2 separate regions of the Homo sapiens genome follow, and region 1 is linked to region 2. Evidence: promoter capture Hi-C in human tissues and cell types (Jung and others, 2019). All regions are on one chromosome and are shown on one strand. The core of a region is centred on a gene start or on the middle of the fragment in contact, and the rest is flanking DNA. Distances in the headings are between cores, read along the strand shown. Region 1 holds the start of SCRIB (scribble planar cell polarity protein). Region 2 holds the start of EEF1D (eukaryotic translation elongation factor 1 delta).

What was found. Contacts are between HindIII fragments. The study calls those that stand out against the background at their distance.
Region 1: the fragment with the promoter of SCRIB here is called in contact with the fragment with the promoter of EEF1D in region 2 in 8 of the 25 tissues and cell types used here (IMR-90 fibroblasts, adrenal gland, dorsolateral prefrontal cortex and 5 more).

Annotation. Positions count from the first base shown.
Region 1 is chr8:143,814,402-143,817,101 of GRCh38, forward strand. It overlaps SCRIB (scribble planar cell polarity protein), which reads right to left and starts at 1,372. Exons shown (of 37, transcript NM_182706.5): 1 at 813-1,372. The coding sequence starts at 971. It overlaps PUF60 (poly(U) binding splicing factor 60), which reads right to left. Exons shown (of 12, transcript NM_078480.3): 11 at 2,509-2,700; 12 at 1,943-2,418. The coding sequence ends at 2,119. RefSeq lists enhancers at 1-414, 699-1,331, 1,332-1,964. The HindIII fragment of the contact is 41,605 bases long and covers 1-2,700 here.
Region 2 is chr8:143,595,980-143,598,679 of GRCh38, forward strand. EEF1D (eukaryotic translation elongation factor 1 delta) reads right to left here and starts at 1,436. Exons shown (of 10, transcript NM_001130053.5): 1 at 1,369-1,436. TIGD5 (tigger transposable element derived 5) reads left to right here and starts at 1,852. Exons shown (of 1, transcript NM_032862.5): 1 at 1,852-2,700. The coding sequence starts at 1,925. RefSeq lists an enhancer at 84-683. The HindIII fragment of the contact is 45,525 bases long and covers 1-2,700 here.

The sequences.
Region 1 (2,700 bases), core at 122-2,621, 220 kb after region 2:
CTTACCTCAGGGCCCACCCAGCCCCTGAACCACTTCTGCCACCCTCCAGGGGCCCACACTGGCCTCTGCTACTGCATCCTGACAACAAGCCTGGCCTGGTTCTGCAGCAAGAACTCAGTAAACGCTCCCCACAATAACACAGTACCACAGGCACAGTGCTACGCGCGAGGCCTGCAGGTGGCCACAGAGGACCGAGCTGTCACTGCCACGGCCAGAACAGGGTCACATTCTTTGGGACACCCAACCCCTAGGTACTGATCACCCAGCACCCCATCTCCAGAAAAGAAATACTTTTTAATCTGCTTTCTCCAGCCTCCTTTCTTGTAGCAGCCTTAGGAGAGCACCTGACCACGAGAAGCAAGGGTAAAGAAAGGGGGACAGCGAACAGATCCGAGAGCAAAGAGTACATCAAGAGGGCTCCCCCACTCACCCCTGCACCCAGCAAAAAAGGAGAGGAGGTCTGGACCCACCTCCAGAGCGGCCCAAGAAGCTAGTACTCATCAGCCACCTGAATCCAAGTTCCACCCTAACCCCATCCACCTCCCTGAATCCCCACGGGTTTCACTCTGAGGCTCCGCCTCCAGGCTCGGTGACAATCGCTATCCCCAGGCAAGCACCTGATGACCGCTGCCACCTGCGCCAGCCAGGGCGGCTGGAAGAGAAGGGTGGGGCTGGCTGGGGTGGGGACCTGGCCAGTGCAAACCAGCAGGGCCGGCTGGAGGCTGCGGTGACTCGCCCGGGCAGATTCTGCCGCCGGAGGAATCACGGGCTGGGGGCGCGCCTTTGGGCGGCAGGTGCGGGCGGCCGCTCACCTTGGGCAGCTCGCGCAGCTGGTTGGCGTCGAGCAGCAGCTCCTCCAGGCTGCGGCTGTAGCGGTAGATCTCCTCCGGCACGGCCTGCAGCGAACAGTGCCGCTTGTCCACCGACTCCACGTGCCGGTTGCAGCGCCACAGCGGGATGCACTTGAGCATGGTGCGGGTGGGCGGCGCGGGCTCCGGCGGCGGCGCTCGGCGGGCTCGGGGCCGGGGGGCGGGGCTCAGTCCGCATGGGCGCCGCGCATGGGGAGGGGGCGCAGGCAGGGGGCGGGCCGCCCGAGACTGGACGGGGACGCGGCCGCGGCCGGCGCTGGGCCCGGCCCGCGCTCGGAACGCTCGGACTGCGGGCCTGGGCAGGGGGCGCGGCCCGGCGGGTCTCAGACTCTTAGGAAGCGCGGGGAGCGGCGGCGGCGGCGGCTCCGCATCCCGCTTGGTCCTGCTCAGCTCGTCCCGCCCGCTCGTCCGCCCGCTGTGCCGCACCGGAACCGCCGCTGCCCGCCGGACTGCCCCGCCGACACCCACCCGGCCGCCGCGCAGCCCGTCGGGAAGCCGAGTCCGGCCCTCGCCGCCTAGCACGCCCGGACTGCGGCCCCCAGAAGGCCCCGCGCGCCGCCGCCTCTGAGGACCCGTAGCGGCACCGCGCAAAGCGTGCCGGGAAGCCGGGCCCGCCCCGCGCGCGGGATATTGGGAGCTACAATCCACGAGAGGCGGCGCCCTCCGCCCTCCGGTCTTCAGCCCGGCCCCTGGCCCCGCGGCATTTGGCCACGAATCTTAACGCACAGCCTCCTCCCGGGAAGCGACCATGCCCGCCCGCCCGCCTTGGACGGCCGGCTCTGCGGCACAAAAGCACTGGCAGCGCGCGCTGTCCAGCGGGTCGCGGTGTCCCGGTGCCCAGCCTTCTCTCAGCACCACCCTGCGGGGACGGCTGCGAGCCCGCGCGCGAGAGCCTGGCGCCCCAGGCAGCCCCGCCCACCCAGCCGCCGCCACCCGCGGGACGGGGCCCGGGGCGCCAACCCCCTGCCCAGGTCTCGCCCACGGCAGGCCCCTCCTGCCAACAGGAAGCAGGTCCAGAGACCCCCCCAACCCTGCCTCCTCGCCCTAGACCCCCTAAGGACACACGCCCAGGATCGGTGACAGGACCGACGGCAGACACACGGACGTTCAGGGCCAGCAGCATCCGCACCTTTATCCGCACTGTAGGCTGGGCTGGGCAGAGCGCGCCTGGCCCCGGGGACACCACTGTATCACTATAAAACCCAGAGGAAACAAGGAACAAGTGCAAGTCCGGGGAGAGGGACCACTGTCACGCAGAGAGGTCACTGTTATCAAAACGCTCCTGGTCGTACACTTCAGCCACCACCTTGCGGCCAGCAAACCAGCGGCCATTGAGGGCCTGGATGGCCTTATGAGTCTCAGAGGCTATGGAAAACTCCACAAAGATCTTGACAATGATTTCTGCATCCTCCTCCTCGCCTTGTTTCTCTTGGTAGATGATGACGCGGTTCACGGCCCCGAACTTGCCACACTCCTCTGTCACCTCCCCTTCCAGGTCATCATCGATGTCCTTGGGGTCCACCATGTTGCGCAGAACCATCACTGTAGACTGTGGGGCAGGGCCGAGGGGAAGACAGCTGAGCACTGCGGCCCCGCCCCCCTACCCTCTCCCCCGCCACCACCCTGCCCCTCTGCCTACCTCCTGCTTGCGGAGCAGCTTCTGCATCACCATGTGTCGGGCGCTACTGCCCGAGATGCTCATGTGCTCCTGCTCGCTCAGCATCTCTGGCCGCTCTGACTCGGGAAACAGCTCCTCTTCTTCCTTCTCCTTCTTGGGCTCCAGGAGACCCAGCGTTGGAGGGCTGGCCAGGATGGGGTTCACCACTCCCAC
Region 2 (2,700 bases), core at 186-2,685:
CCACAAATCCTCAATGCCACATTTCCTGTCCTCAGCCCCCAGAAGGCTGACGCCAGTGCACGGCACAGCCCAGGTACTCTTTGTCCATCATCAAGCACGTGTGCCCACCTGTGCTAAACCTTGCAGCCTCACCCAGCAACCCGGGAGCAAAGCCCAGAGGGCCTAGTCCTCCAGAGGAGGCGGGAGGCAGCGGGGGCTCTGTCGGCTGGGCGCTCACTCTGCCAGCACTGACTGCGTGTGAACCCTGCAGCAGCCCAGGGGAGATGCTGCTGTCTCACAGGATTGGCACTGCGCCCAGAAAGCCTCTACAGAGGCAGGTCTAGGAGCCTGGCTGGGCCTGAGGCATGTGGTGAGAAGGCGAAGGTGAGCGTCTACTTCCTCAGAGGACGCTCGGGGGCTCCTTCCACACCTGCCCAGCCCCTCAGCTGCATCCCCCACCCCCAGAACGGGGCTGGGCACACACGGGCTCCGGAAGTAACCAACTGCCTGCGAGCCAGCTGCTTAAGGCTCATGGGGTCCAGATGACGGGGTGGGCGGAGCTGTAGAAGGAGGCTGCTCAGGTGAGATGGCCTGGCCTGCCTCCCTGGGAGGTGAGCCGCAGGCAGTGTCAACTTAAGAAGCACCCCGCCCTGTCGGGCAGGGACAACCCCAAGTTTAGCTACACAGTTCTTCTGCTGCCAGGCGGTCCTTCATTCTGGAAACCAATCCTGACGTCTCATCAGGTCCCCAACCCACTCCGCCCCCTTTGCCTTCTTCCTTCCACTTAAAGCCTCTGAAAGTACTACTTCTTAGCAACAGCATCCCCGCCCCCTTCAGAGACTGCCCGACCACCCTATCCAAATCAAGAGACAGAAATTTTGACCCAGTCACAGTACAGGCTTATTCCTTTCCGTGCTCACTAGCGTCTAAGTTCCAAAAGTGTTGCGTCCGTGCCTATCCCCTCCGTGCTCAGCTGATGCGTGCAGTAACTGGTGCTTGACAAAGACGTGGTGTACGAAGGTCTGCAGGCCAGAGAAACAGCTGGGGCAGATGTCTGGTCTCCCACGGAGACGGCAGCAAACACAGGCCTTAGGCCCCAGCAGCCTGGCCGAGGGGCTTCCACGACCGGGATGCGCCGTGAGACAGTGCTCCCGGCGCCCCCGTCCCGCGGACGCCCTCCAAGCCGGCCACGTGGCCTCCGTCGCCCCGCCTCTCTGCGCTCGCCCCAAGTGCCGCACTTGGCCCACGGCCCCTAAGCCCGCGCTGGCGCACTTGTGCCTCAGTCCCTAACGGCGCGAGCTTCTGGCGCAGCCCGGGCCGCCCGCCCTCCCGGCCCCTCGGGCGTCTCTGTCGCGCCCGACTCCTTCCGGCGGGGGCCGCGGTACTCACACGCCAGCCAAGGACGCGGCGACCAAGGAGGAGGAATCGGCGGACGCGGGAAGACTGATGAAAGGGAGGGCCGCCCGGGCCGCGCACGGGAAATGAAGCACTGGGCTCTACCAAGAGCCACGGGCCGGGGGCCCGGGGGGGGGACGCGACCCTTGCACACGCCCCGCCTGGCCGCCAGGACCCTCGACGCGCCGTGCCCCGACACTTCAAAGGCAGAATTCCGTTGGAGATGACCGCGGAGGCCGCTCTTCCCCGGAGGAGTCTGCACAAGTGCTGGGAACGGGCGGCAGCGCGCGCGCCCCCCCTGCGCTTCGCGGCCAGTGGTGTCGCCGGTGGGGGCGGGTCCGGCAGCCGGCAAGCGCCGAGTGACGCACGAGGCGGCCAGCGCGCAGGCGCGGGGCGGGGCCGGGCCGGGCTAGGTCAGCGCGCGTGCGCCCGCCAAGCTGCGGGACAAAGGGGAGGGACCCGTGCGGCCCCGCCCCCGAGTGCCCCGCCCCGAGCGGCTGGGCGTGTGGCTCCCGCGACCCGCGCGGCCCGGGTCCCCCCCGCCGCAGCCATGTACCCCGCGGGCCCCCCGGCCGGCCCGGTACCGCGCCGCGGCCGCCGTCCCCTGCCCGGGCCCCCCGCGCCCGCCCCAGCCCCCGTCCCCGCTGCACGGCCGCCGCCCCCCGCGCCCGGGCCGCGGCCCCGCGTGGCCGTGAAGATGGCCTTCCGCAAGGCCTACTCCATCAAGGACAAGCTGCAGGCCATCGAGCGCGTCAAGGGCGGCGAGCGGCAGGCCAGTGTGTGCCGCGACTTCGGCGTGCCGGGCGGGACGCTGCGCGGCTGGCTCAAGGACGAGCCCAAGCTGCGCTGGTTCCTGGAGCAGCTGGGCGGTGAGGTGGGCACTCAGCGCAAGAAGATGCGGCTGGCCAACGAGGAGGAGATCGACCGCGCCGTGTACGCCTGGTTCCTGGCGCTGCGCCAGCACGGGGTGCCGCTGTCTGGCCCGCTCATCCAGGCGCAGGCCGAGGCCTTCGCGCGCCAGATCTACGGGCCCGAGTGCACCTTCAAGGCCAGCCACGGCTGGTTCTGGCGCTGGCAGAAGCGCCACGGCATCTCCAGCCAGCGCTTCTACGGCGAGGCCGGGCCCCCAGCCCCGAGCCCCGCGCCCGGCCCGCCCGTCAAGGAGGAGCCCGCGCTGCCCTCCGGCGCCGGCCCCCTGCCCGACCGCGCCCCGGCCCCGCCGCCCCCGGCCGAGGGCGGCTACGGGGACGAGCAGATTTACAGCGCCAGCGTCACCGGCCTCTACTGGAAGCTGCTTCCGGAGCAGGCTGCGCCCCCGGGCGCAGG